Regions from separate parts of the Homo sapiens genome. Here all the other regions are linked to region 2. The links are contacts of gene promoters, found by promoter capture Hi-C in human tissues and cell types (Jung and others, 2019). All regions are on one chromosome and are shown on one strand. The core of a region is centred on a gene start or on the middle of the fragment in contact, and the rest is flanking DNA. Distances in the headings are between cores, read along the strand shown. Region 1 has its middle 7.5 kb from the start of FBXO21. Region 2 holds the start of RNFT2 (ring finger protein, transmembrane 2). Region 3 overlaps FBXW8 (F-box and WD repeat domain containing 8). Region 4 overlaps FBXW8 (F-box and WD repeat domain containing 8).

What was found. The method cuts DNA at HindIII sites, captures the fragments that hold promoters and counts their contacts. A contact is called where the count stands out against the background at its distance.
Region 1: a contact is called between a fragment that was not itself captured here and the fragment with the promoter of RNFT2 in region 2, in 1 of the 25 tissues and cell types used here (spleen).
Region 3: a fragment that was not itself captured here is called in contact with the fragment with the promoter of RNFT2 in region 2 in 1 of the 25 tissues and cell types used here (spleen).
Region 4: a contact is called between a fragment that was not itself captured here and the fragment with the promoter of RNFT2 in region 2, in 1 of the 25 tissues and cell types used here (thymus).

Annotation. Positions count from the first base shown.
Region 1 is chr12:117,196,451-117,199,477 of GRCh38, reverse strand. No RefSeq gene overlaps it. Among named protein-coding and RNA genes, the nearest start is that of FBXO21, 7.5 kb to the right of the region's middle. The HindIII fragment of the contact is 3,668 bases long and covers 1-3,027 here.
Region 2 is chr12:116,736,570-116,739,731 of GRCh38, reverse strand. RNFT2 (ring finger protein, transmembrane 2) reads right to left here and starts at 1,417. Exons shown (of 11, transcript NM_001382266.1): 1 at 1,362-1,417. SPRING1 (SREBF pathway regulator in golgi 1) reads left to right here and starts at 1,663. Exons shown (of 5, transcript NM_024738.4): 1 at 1,663-1,942. The coding sequence starts at 1,832. RefSeq lists enhancers at 1,135-1,394, 2,163-3,121 and silencers at 1,585-1,844, 1,925-1,974. The HindIII fragment of the contact is 23,901 bases long and covers 1-3,162 here.
Region 3 is chr12:117,023,190-117,026,304 of GRCh38, reverse strand. FBXW8 (F-box and WD repeat domain containing 8) reads right to left here. Exons shown (of 11, transcript NM_153348.3): 9 at 1,985-2,158. Among named protein-coding and RNA genes, the nearest start is that of TESC, 75 kb to the left of the region's middle. RefSeq lists enhancers at 590-1,125, 1,126-1,661, 981-2,180. The HindIII fragment of the contact is 3,500 bases long and covers 1-3,115 here.
Region 4 is chr12:117,000,365-117,003,688 of GRCh38, reverse strand. All of the region lies in intron 7 of FBXW8 (F-box and WD repeat domain containing 8), which reads right to left. Among named protein-coding and RNA genes, the nearest start is that of FBXW8, 91 kb to the right of the region's middle. The HindIII fragment of the contact is 4,366 bases long and covers 1-3,324 here.

The DNA of each region.
Region 1 (3,027 bases), core at 142-2,641, 460 kb before region 2:
ACACCCTGCTAATTTTTTTTTTTTTTTTTTTTTTTTGGTATTTTTTAGTAGAGACAGGGTTTCACCATGTTGGCAAGGTTGGCCTTGAACTCCTGACCTCAGGTGATCCACCCACCTCGGCCTCTCAGAATGCTGGCATTACAGGCGTGAGCCACTGTGCCCAGCCAGTTGCTATATTATAGAAAGAGATTTGATGGAAGTGATGAAGCTTAACTTTAAGGCCCCTCCCTTGGAAAGATCCCTCCCTTCCAAGGCCACTTATTTTCTCATTCTACATACTCTTTCTAGTACTCTTGTGTACTTGTGAATTCATCCTTGTGTATCTCTTTTCTAAAACAGGGCCTCCAGGCCAGGTGTGATGGCGCACACCTGTAATCCCAGCACTTTGGGAGACCGAGGCAGGCAGATCACTTGAGGTCAGGAGTTTGAGACCAGTCTGGCCAACATGGTGAAACACCATCTCTACCAAAAATATAAAAATTAGTTGGGCATGATGATGTGTGCCTATAGTCCCAGCTACTTGGGAGGCTGAGGTGAGAGAATCGCTTAAACCTGGGAGGCGGAGGTTGCAGTAAGCCAAGATCACGCCATTGCACTCCAGCCTGGGCTACAGAGCGAGACTTACAGTCTAGCCTAGGCAACAGAGCAAGACTCCGTCTTAAAATAAAATACAATAAAATAGGGCCTCCAAACAGCGTAAGCTCCGGGCTCCACTAAACCCAGATCTGCCCCTGCGGGAGGGTGAATCTAGTAATCATGGCCATGTATGCATTCCTACAGTTTGTGAGTGTGTACTGAATGAAAGGCATAGGGTTCTGAGAAGGCACAAGGCAGAAGGAGCTTGCCTAGCCTGGGTTCATGGACTTGTGTTCCTACAGAGGAGCACTTGAGCAGAAATCTGAAAGATGAGTAGGTGTGGCTGAGGAGGCACTCCTGGGAAAAGGAACCGTATCAGCAAAGGCCCTCAGGTGGGCAGAGAAGTGGACCAGAAAAGAAAGGATGTAAGTACTAATTATGAGGACAAGGAACACTGTAGGGACTAAGGGAAACTTCCCCTTTGCCCTCAGAAGTTTCACTGAAAAATCAACTCACAAAAGGCAGATTAATAAGAGAAAAGGCCTTTGGGAGGCCAAGGCAGGAGGATTGCTTGAAGCCAGGTATTCAAAACCAGCCTGGGCAACAGTGCAAGCTCCCATCTCTATAAAAATTTTTTTTTAAATAGCCAGGCATAGGCCAGGCGCGATGGCTCACGCCTGTAATCCCAGCATTTTGGGAGGCCGAAGCAGCTGGATCACCTGAGGTCAGGAGTTCAAGATCAGCCTGGCCAACATGGTGAAACCCCGTCTCTACTAAAAATACAAAAAAATTAGCTGGGTGTGGTGGCAGACATCTGTAATCCCAGCTACTCAGGAGGCTGAGGCAGGAGGATTGCTTGAACCCAAGAGGTGGAGGTTGCAGTGAGCCAAGATCACACCACTGCACTCCAGTCTGGGCAACAAGAGCGAAACTCTATCTCAAAAAATAAAATAGCCAGGCATGGTGGCACACACGTGTAGTCCCAGTTACTTGGGAGGCTGAGCCAGGAGGATGGCTTCATCCCAGAAGTTCAAGGCTGCAGTGAGCTATTACTGCTCTACTGCACTCCAGTCTGGTCAACAGAGCAAGACCCTGTCTCCAAAACAAAAAGAGAGAGAAAGAGAGAATGGGCATACAAATTTATGAACATGCACACGGAAGAGGCCCACCAAAAGATTACTCACCTCCCCGCTGCCATGGAGTTTGGAAACTTATTAACATCTTAAAATTACAGAAAGAATGGGAGCTTGGATCTTGGCAAAACAGGTGTGGACAGTGTTGAGGGTAGTTGAAATGGTATCTGCGGCTAGATTGTGGAGATTTCACTGGAGAGGGGTGTTGACCTCGCCAGCCAAAAATAACGAGAAATTCATCTGTAGTCCAACAAAGATAAGTTTTTACCTTGCTGCAGCAAGGGAGAGGCCACCCTAGAGGACCACTGGGAAGCCAGGGAGGAGGGATCCCAGAGGGACTTATTCTAGGATTTGAGTTTGTGCAGGGTGATTTTAGCAGGGACTGTGGGATAGAGCAGGAACTCCCAAGCATGGAAATGAAGAAAAATTTTGAGTTCCTTCAAGGGAAATTCCAGGCACCTCGCTAGTAATTCCAGGCACCTTGCTGAGAAGTAAATGAGTGACTTGATAAGCAAGAAGGTAATAGTAGCTCAAAACACTAGCAAGAAAGTTAGAATCATGGGATGTCTGGTTCGCTTACAGAAACTAAGGATAGTGTCTTAACACACGTCTGTGGGTTGTTTTTCAGGATCCCAGACCCCCACCAAACAGACCCACTGGCCGTAGACCTCACATAAAGAGAAACTGAGGACCGAACCCTGACCACTGTTTTTTGTTCTAAATTTCTTCCTGTGGGGTCTAGAGGAGATCACGGCTACCAGCCAGAGCTAACATTCTTTACTGCAAATCTCAATTTTTTTAGACAAAGCTTCACCTCCTTAACCAAATACAAGTCAAAAAATCTTTGAATCCAGGGCCCTGCACAGTGGCTAACGCCTGTAATCCCAGCACTTTGGGAGGCCAAAGCGGGCGGCTCACAAGGTCAAGAGATCGAGACCATCTTGACCAACATGGTGAAACCCCGTCTCTACTAAAAATGCAAAAAATTAGCTGGGTGTGGTGGCGTGCGCCTGTAGTCCCAGCTACAGAGACTGAGGCAGGAGAATCACTTGAACCCAGGAGGCAGAGGTAGAAGTGAGCTGAAATCGTGCCACTGCACTCCAGCCTGGCGACAGAGTGAGACTGTGTCTCAAAAAAACAAAAAACAAAAAACACAACAACAAAAAACCTTTGAATCTACCTATGACCTGTGGGCCTCTGCTTCCAAATGTCCCGCCTTTTTAGGTCAAACCAATGGATAGCCTCCATGTAATTGATTTATGGCTTTGCCTGTAACCTCTGCCTCCTTGCCTTTAAAAACTCTTACCTGTGGGCAGGC
Region 2 (3,162 bases), core at 168-2,667:
TTCTCCCTTTTCCCACTCCTGTCCACCCACAGTGGCCCTTCTGTTCCTCTAATGTGTCAGCGTGTCCCTGCCTCAGGGCCTTTGCACTTGCTGTGCCCTCCCCTTGGAATACTTTCTCCTCTAAATGTGGCAGGGCTTGGTCCCGCAGGGCAAATGTCGTCTCTTCCCAGAGGCCTTCTCTTCTCATTCTCCTGACTCCCCGTAATATTGCCCTGTTTTATATTATTCATAGCACTTATTTGTTCATGTTTGCTTATTTATTTATGATTTGTCCTCCCCATTAGAATATAAATGCCATTCCTGAAAGTAGGGATCCTGTCTACTTGGATCACCCCTCTGCCTCAGCATCCAGGACACTGTTTGGCACAGAGTGGCGCTCAACAAGTATTTACTCAATGAATAAAACATCTATGGGTCTCCCAGTTCCCCTTTTCTAGATCCCTTGCTCCCTGTCCCACCTTTCACCCTAGCAAGGTAATAAGGGCCATCTACTTCCCATGAAAAGGTTTAGCCTCCGTGAATATCTTCTTGTCTCTGGAGGCAGAGCCAATATTGTGGATATAGGGTGTCTATATCAGTCAGATGGTGTCTGACTTCAGTTTAGGGCACGATTATTGGCTGTTGAATGACTTCCTAATCCTGACCAGGCTTCTTGAGGGGGCAGCAATGGTGTCACTAGGGCCACTGATTAAAAATGACCCGCCAGTGAAGCCTCCTTTCTCTTTTGAAAAATTAGGTAACAAACCGGTCAGCAGCAGCATCTTCATATATCAAGAAAAGGTCATTATATAAATATTTTTCAAGAATTTGCAATCTCAACTTAATCCTCCTCTCGCCCCTCCCTCCATTATCCCACATTGCAAATCCTTGGGGGAAAATAAAATTCATATTCCAAAGTTCTCATCCACACATTTAACTCCTAAATCGAATGCTCGAAACTCTACTTTCGGATGCTTGTATTGGAAGAGGCTTCGGATTCTTTGTCGGAAGCAGGCCGTACATAATTCTGGAATAAATTTTTGCACGCGGGATGCATCTGAATGAATGAAACGCTTTTTAATCCTCTGCTCTGTACATCCCACTATGTCCCTTTGAAGGACCGCACCGAGACTTTTCGATGCTTGCGATGGTTCAAGTTGCGCCCCTGGGGCCCGTTACAGGACTGCACCGAAATGCACTCAGAGGAGCATCGCCTGCATCACTTGGACTGGAAGCCGGCAGGTGCACTTCGGGAACAACGTCGCGAGCGCTTTTCATCCCTGCAACCAACACACAGCGCAAAACGCTCTGGGACTGCAAGGGCAGGAGACTACACAGACCATGATGGGAGAAAAGAAAAAAAAATCGCGTTCTCTTTTTACCTGCCCAGACAATTCAGCAATCACAGCCGCATCATTCAGGTCCAGCCAAGCCAATCACCCGCGCAGCCTGGGCAGCATGTGACTTCCGATGCTTCCGGCCTCCTATTGGGTGGTTTCTTGGCGTCGCCGGGTCCGGCGCTAGGACCCGGGCACAGCTACGCCCGCAGCACTCACGCGATTGTCCGCCCCCTTTCCCGGCACTTAACCAATAGGAGGCCGCCGTTCCTTAGGGACCAATGGTGAGAAGATCTTGCGCGACTAGCCCTTGTCGCTGCGGAGCGGAGGCGGGGCGTAGGGCGGGGTCACGTGGGGCTGCGCCCAAGGCTGCCGGGAGCAGACTGGGCTGCGGGCGGCGGGGCCGGCGCCTGCCTGGAGGGATGGGGCTGCCGGGCGCGTAGGGGCCATGCCGCCCGGGACCCGGGCCTGCCGCGTTCCGCGCCCCGGCCGCCGCGCCCCACGTCCGCGCCGGGATGGTGAACCTGGCGGCCATGGTGTGGCGCCGGCTTCTGCGGAAGAGGTGGGTGCTCGCCCTGGTCTTCGGGCTGTCGCTCGTCTACTTCCTCAGCAGCACCTTCAAGCAGGTCAGTGGCCGCCCTTCCCCTCCTCCCCTTCCCTTCTTCCTTCCTTCCTCCCCCTTACTTTACTTTCTCCTTCCTTCCTTCGTTACCTTCCTCCTTTTTTCCTTCCTCCCTGTCTTCCTACCCCTTCCCTTCCTTTCTTTCTCCCCTTCCCTTCCTTCCTCCTTCCTTCCCTTCTTCCTACCTCCCCTCCTTCCTTATCTTCCTCCTTCCTTCCCCTCTCCCTGCCTCCCTTCCTTCCTTACCTTCCTCACCTTCCTCCTCCTTCCTTCCTCCCCCTTTCCTTCCTCCCCCTTCCCTTTCTTCTTTCCTCCCCTTTTTCCTCTCCCTTCCCTTCCGTCTTTCTTCCTTCCCTTCCTCCTTCCGTCCTCCTCCTTTCTGTCCCCCTCTCCCTTCCTTCTTCCTTTACTCCCTTTCTTCCCTGACATCCTCTTTCCTCACTTCGTTCTTCCTCCTTCCTTCCCTTCCTCCTCTTTTTCCTTACTCCTCGCGTTTGTCCGACCTCCCGACTTCTGCAGCGGCGCCGCCGGGGCGTCCGAGGGTGGGGAGAGGTGCGCATTCCTGTCCCGGTCTCAGCACGGGTGAGGGACCTGCCCACCGCCTTGGTCCCTGCAGCGGGAAGGGGTTGCTAGGCCAGGGCAGAGCTGGGACTAGAACCCCGAGTTGAGGACCCTTCAGCGGTGGGGACTGCTTTTATGAACACCTCCCTGCTTTTCACCTGCCCGGTCCAGAGCTAAGAGAGGGCGTGCATTTGCTGGCTTCATCTTCGCAGCAGGCCTGGGAGAAGTGGGGTTCCCAGTATTACAGTGGGGGAAACCAAGACATAGGTGGCGAGGGTCGGCCAGCCCTCGCATGGGTGCCCTTCGTTTAATTTGGGGGCTCTGTGTCCTCCTGGGTGACTCAAAAGGACCCACAGTTCCTTTTATGCTTTTTGTGCATAACTTGATTGGTAGAATTCCACCCCTCCAACACACTGCACCCTTTCATTTTTCTTCCATGTGAGAATTTCTGGGAGAAACAGCAAGGAGCACGGGTGGGGAAATCTTACCCAAAGCATTAATAAGTTTGTCTAGAAGTCCAGGTTGAGTGCTTAGTTGTGTAGAAAGGGTGGTTACACCCCAGGGTGCACCCAGGATAATGGGTTATGCTGTTGTCCTGACATGGTTATAAAAAGCTCTCCTTTTTACTCTCAAAGCTCAAGTGTGTAAATAAAATATATAAGT
Region 3 (3,115 bases), core at 230-2,729, 290 kb before region 2:
TGGAGGCCTGCAGCCTGGAGGACTGAAGGAAAGTGTTGGTGGACCTGGCATGGGACCTGGAGGATGAGAAAGACCCGGGGAGGGAGGGCAGGCTTGGTGGAGGCCTGCAGCCTGGAGGACTGACGGCACCCTGTCAGGCAGGCGAGGACCTGGGCTGAAGAGACTGAAGCGGACAGCGGGAGGTACATGACAGTGACCAAACAACAGCCAGACTGGGGCCTGGCAGCAGGCACTGCAGGTGAGGCCTTGAGCAAGTCAGTGAGTTCTGGGCAGGAGACCATGTGTCTGTCAGCCTTGTGCTGGTGAAAACAGTGACCACGTGGGGGACAAGCCTGGACCGCACAGGGACAGAGGCAGTGCTGGGACAGGGCCACACCTCTGGGGAAGGCCTTCCTTAGCTAGGCTTCATCTCAGTGGCCTGTCCCAGGGAGTGAAGCTTTGCTGAGAGAAAAATGAGATCTACTGGAGTTGGGGGCTGGCAGCCATCCCTGAGGACCTGGATGGCTGATCCAGGGTTTTCCTCAAAGGCAATGCTTCCGGGAATTTCAGTGCGGGAGTTTTAGTTGCCGTTTGGCACCACCTGGTGGCAATTCAGTGCATCACCATTCAGAAAAAGGGCCGAGGCGCCCTCAACAGGCACAGCCACAGCGAGGGGGCGGGCCAGGCAGTACCCAGGGCTCTGTCTGATAAAATGTGCCGGCCACAGTGTTTGCCAACACTGCCCTCCAAGGAAGAAGCCCATTCTGCATGTAACCCTGCCGCCTCTTGGAGACACCTGTCAAATTGCTGACCTTGCACTTCCATAAAGACCATGTCGCTGCTCAGAGGTTGTGTTCTCAGAGGTCGGTTTACCTTGATTTGCGGTAAGTGGGGAACAAATCTTAGTTCCTGTGGGAGGGCCTTGCCCTGTTTCTGCTCTTCTATGTTGTCATGCTCAGAGGCCACTGGCCCAGAATCATCTCGGTTTTGTAGAGATGGGGTTTCATTCTGTCACCCAGGCTGGAGTACAGTGACACAGTCACTGCAGCCTCAAACCCCTGGCCTTGAGAGCTCCTCAGTCTCCTGAGTAGCTGGGATTACAGGTGAGCCACGTGTCTGGCCGAATGTCTCTTCACAGTGGTGCTGAGGGCAGCAAGCGAGAGGGCCGGCTGCCTTTCTCCCCACCTGTCTCAAACGCAGGGTCTCCTGTTCGAGGCCTGCAGGGCCAGGTAGAGGTGGTGGCAGGTGGGCTCAAGTCAGCTCTGATGAGCCAGCCCTGGGCTGGGCTGCTGCTTTGAAGGTCAGAAGCAGGCTCACTGGAAATGTCTTAACCAGTTAGGTGCCACTGGCGTAAACCTACCTACCTCTGTGACGCCATCAGCCTGTGCTTAGGATAGTATTTATTTATATTTTGAATAGTGGTGTTAAAGGTGGAAATGACAAATTCCTCCTTCGTTGGAGCCTGAACCCCTTCAGTCCTAAGTGCTCTTCTCTGTAAACAGCATGAGGAAAGTCTAAGCAACGGGCAGAACCATGGTTACACATGACGGACTCGAGTGGAGGACAGCAGCTGGGCCAGCCCTGCCTTCCACCTGTGGGCAGGTGGGGTGTCACATCCTGGTCTAGCCCAGCGAGCTTCCTATGTTTTTGAGTTCCCTTTTCTGTTTATTAAGATGGAGAAATCCTAAAATAATCAGAATAGCACTTGCAAAAAAGTAGTTTCATTCTTAGAGAAAGCTGGGCCTGGCTAATGTAGGAATTGTGGCGATCTGAATGATGTCAGAGACAGGAACTGCATCCCCACTGACCAGCGCCATTTCCAAGCCTGTTTCCTCCTCTGCAGAGCGGTGCTGGGACAGCAGCTGGCTCCTAGGGTCACAGTAAGGATTCACCTGGCGAAGCCGGGGGGTAGGGGGCATTTAGCACCGTGCCTGGTGCAGGCTGATTAGTGCTGCCTTCCCTGTTCCTACTAGGAACTCCCAAGAGTGTCTAGAATGCACCTTACCCGGAATACACCTCCCACAGCTTCTGGTTCATCCGATAATCCCACACGGACACCAGGCCTTCCTCGCCTCCACTGACGATCTTCCAGTCATCCATCTGCACAGCAGAGACCCTGAGCTGATGGGCGGAGAGCGACAGGGCGATGTTACCACTGCGGAGGTCGTGGATCCTCACCCTGGACAGGCCCAGGAAGAGCAGAGAAGGGAAATGGGGTTAGAGTCAAAGCTTCAAATGACAAACTCCCCCTCCACGGTGCTGGTCTATGCACAACACTGCTATGAAAAACTCCTCAGCTGCAAACAAACATCGATAATAAGGACATCAAGCACAGACTGTCAGGGAGGACCCACACGGTCTCATCTGAATGGTTTAAAAGCACATGGAGCAAGAAAGACGCAGGCCAAGGACAGTGGCTGCCCACTTTACCTGCTTAACAGGGAAAAGCCACCTGCATGACTGCATGCGCAGGTTGGCCTGAGACGCCTGTCCCAGCAGTAGGTGTACTGCCCAGCACAGTAATTTTGCTGTTGGTAAAATAACCTGTTAAAGGCAAGAGCTACAAAGCCAGACACCCCAGATCCTAACCGGGTGAGGACCCGGTTAGGAAAAGAACACTTTTTGGGTATTTCACTTGACTTTGTAAGTTCATTGCTGTCTTGCTGGAACTGAGAAAGGGAAAGCCTTTATCCTTGATAAGCACAGCAGAGCGGGGATAAGGGTGTGTGTACCCTGGGCAGTCACTTATTGAAATAATTACTTGCCTTATAATAATCCCCATTTCTTTAAGAACCTCTTTAAAAACTACTTTTTATGTATGTGGAATTTTTCACGAGGATAAATTAGATAATGGGACAGAAATCTCGTATCCACTACAAACACCACCCTACTTGGTTTCTACAATAAGCCAAAGGCTAAAAGTAAATCAAATTCATTACATTTAATAAATGTAAAGATGAGCTTAAGAGACCCTGTGATGCAAGTCGAAAAGGAAAAGACAGTCCCTGCCCTGAAAAGAAAGACCCCAGCATCTAGCAAGGAACAGGACAAGCACAAGGATGTAAGATTAAAAACGCACGTCTGACCCAAAAGCTGTGGAGCGACAGGATTCTCTGAAACATGTCCCGTGCCCTGA
Region 4 (3,324 bases), core at 346-2,845, 260 kb before region 2:
AGGATAAGGATGAAATGAAGGTGCTGTAAGAAAGAAACACGGAAAACACTTGTGACCAAGTCCTTATGAAAGAAACTTCTAAAGAATGCACTTTTGGGAGACAGAAAATCATTCCAGAAAAAAGGTCTGAGGTGCTGGAAGAAATAGTCAACAAAGATTCAAGTAATGAGCATAAAAGAATCCAGATGCTGTCTGCAAAAACAATGTTGATTTGGGGGTTAAATACATAGAATAATCTGTACCTAGTCTTTATTCCAACCAGTCAAATGCCATGAATCAGGAAAAAGTACCATAACCATGGAAGATGCCAGATGCCCAGGGTGCGCCCCCCGCACTGTCTGGAAGGAACAGAAGCTCCTTTGGATACCTGTGCAGTGTTTGGCACATAGGAGGGGCTCAGTATACAGGTGATGAAAGAATGAGCAGATGAATACACACTGTACATGTCTGCGTGTATCTACCCCTTACAGGCGACTGCTATGCTGGCCTTACAGTAAAGACAGGCTTCACGCATACAAATGAACACACAAAGTCGATTTGCTGTCCACCAACTGCAATGTATACAGCTGTTTGCTAAGTGCCAGGTACACTTTTATTCAGTACAGATCTTCACATACAAGACTAGTGATGCTCCTTTTTAAAAAACAAAAGATACAAAAGAAAAAGTCCTATACATCTTCATGGTAGAATTTACTCACATAAACGACCCACATTGCTATTCTGACCCAACAAAAGTAAGATCCACAGAAACGTGGAATTGAACTACAAAAATGCAAGGTGTGCCTATCAACGTTCATGCACAAAGCTAGGTGAACAGTCTCTATAAATTCACAGATGAGCTAAGACTTTAAAAAAACAGGAATGAGAAAGATAGACAACTGGGGAGAGGGGGAGCCAGTGACAAAAGAGTAAATCATACACAAAACAGCCAATAAAAAAATAAAAATGCAGTTAATATACATGAATAATGGATGTCTGATTTAAAAGCAGTTTACTCCGATATGATGTAATTTTTGACAATCAGCCAGAGAGACTATTTTGTAAGTCCTTGCCAGAGATAAGTCATAGCGTGAGGCTTGGTAACACGGCCGTATCTGTGAACATGTGGAAAATGACTTTCACCACCATCCCAAAGGTGACTTTCTGTTGGCAAACAGAAGCTTGCCTTTCAGGTGCACTTCGCAGCAGCAACCGGCAAGATGCAAATCTTGAAGAAATGGATCCCTGACCCCCTCAACGTTCCCTGCAACATGGCACCCCTTAACAGTCTCCACGACATGCTTCTGGCACCGTCCATGCTCAAATTCAGCACAAAGGGAGAAGCAGCCTGAGCCGCTTTCATGTTTAAGTTTTAATTGGAGTGACAAGCCCACGAGGCCAAGATATTTCAGGGATGGGACGGTGTTGCTGAGCGTCGCCAGGCGCTGGGTAGGCAAGGCCTGTGTGCGCTCCCCACCACCACGTGCCAATGCACCTGCAACCCCCGCTGTTCCAGGACTGGACTCTTCCCGGGCAGGCAGTGCCAACTGCTGCGGGCTGTGCCAAACATGGGGGCTTTGTGATGTGGGCAGATGTCTACAAAGGACCGGAGTGAGGCCAAACCAACACCTATTGTGACCTAAGCCTGAAAGGAACCCACAGAGCAAGAGTACACTCGGGTACAAATCCAGGCAAAAACCATCCAAACCGGCCAATCTCTCTCTCTCAGCACGTCCGTAGGTGCTGGGAATAATAAAGGAAGGCCAGGCCTACTTTGTGGAGTGAGCAGAATATGGTTCTCTCTTTGCTTTGGGATCATTTTTGTCTCAGTGCTGGTGTAAGGGTAAGAAATGTGATCATGAAGACCTGGTTAATGCTCACATAACACAAACAGGGAATATTCATGTCAGAGCAGTGAGTCCAGCGAAGAGATGATAACCATCGTGCAAATGTATGACTGACTGGGAGCTGAAAATCCTTACACCCTCCTTCATGCTCCCAACAGGCCTCATCCCCACAGAGAGCATGGGCAGTGTCAAAATGCCAGGAACACTGACACACGGAAATAATCACCAAGAGAAGGTTATAATATCTATCTTACGGAGTGAAAACTGAGGCTGCAAACTATGAAGTGAACTCTTTAAAATTAAAGGCAACTTGCATACTATTTTGAAAATGAAAAGGTTACCATGAGATGCTCATAATGTACAAGTATCTGTATGCCGACAGGACTTAGTGAACATTGCACATGAAATTCAGTATATTACACTAGCTTGGTTATCGATTTTCTTTTGACTAGCCTGGCAACTTCTAGTTTGGCCCAAAGTTAGACTGGACAAAAGCTTCTAGAAGAGGGCAGGCAGGCAGCTAAAATCAGATCACTGAAACAAATAGCCCCAGGGGGAGACTGGGAAGCCGCAGCGAATAATCAGGGCCTTTGGTGGAGGGCAGCAGGTCCACCCAGGGGCTCCCCCCAGCTCCCTAAGGCATAACGGCCTCTACTCACTCTACATGGTGCATGAGGTATTGGCAGAGACATGCTTAGCAGCATTTTGCACATAAACAAACACTACACATATGAGCTCTTTGTAATACCCAGGACATGCCTTTCACACAAATTCCTTCGGAATATCCTTCCATTTGAATCTCACAACCACCAAGAGGGAGAGAAGACAAATACTACTGCCTACATTTTGTGCATCAAGAAACTGAGGCTTAAATAATTTTAAGTAGCTTGCCCCAAATTACATGGGCAACAAAAGGAGCTGAGGTGGCACTAGGTGGAGCGCAGCTCGTGTCATTCCTGCGCCACTTTGTGACCATATCACAATGTCTTTCCTGTCCTACCAAAATAGTTATTAATAACAGCTAATATTTATAATATTCTCTTACATGCAAAACACTGCTATGATGCGTTATCTCACCTGACCTCCACAGTGCTGTAAGATAGGTACCATGATTTTACTCCCTTTACACAGGAGAATATGGGGCCCTAAGGAGCTCAAACCTCTTGCCCAGTTAGGAAGTTTTGGCACCAGGATTCAAACCTGGGTGGGTGGTATCAAAGCTCATACTCTTTAAACCTCTACCCCAGGGTGCTCAAAGTGTGGTCCCAGGACTAGCAGCCTCCGCTGCTCTGGGCACTTGTTAGACATGCAAATTCTCAGGCCCCACCCTCGACCCACTGAGTCGGAAGCTCCGGGGGTGGGGCCAGTGCTCAGTGTTTTCATCAGGTCTCCTGTAGATTCTGATGCATGCTGGCATGTGAGAACCCCTGTGCTCTACCTATACTGCCTTTCAGGCTAACGAAGAACTTCAGCCATGACAGTGGTAAGTATTACTCAG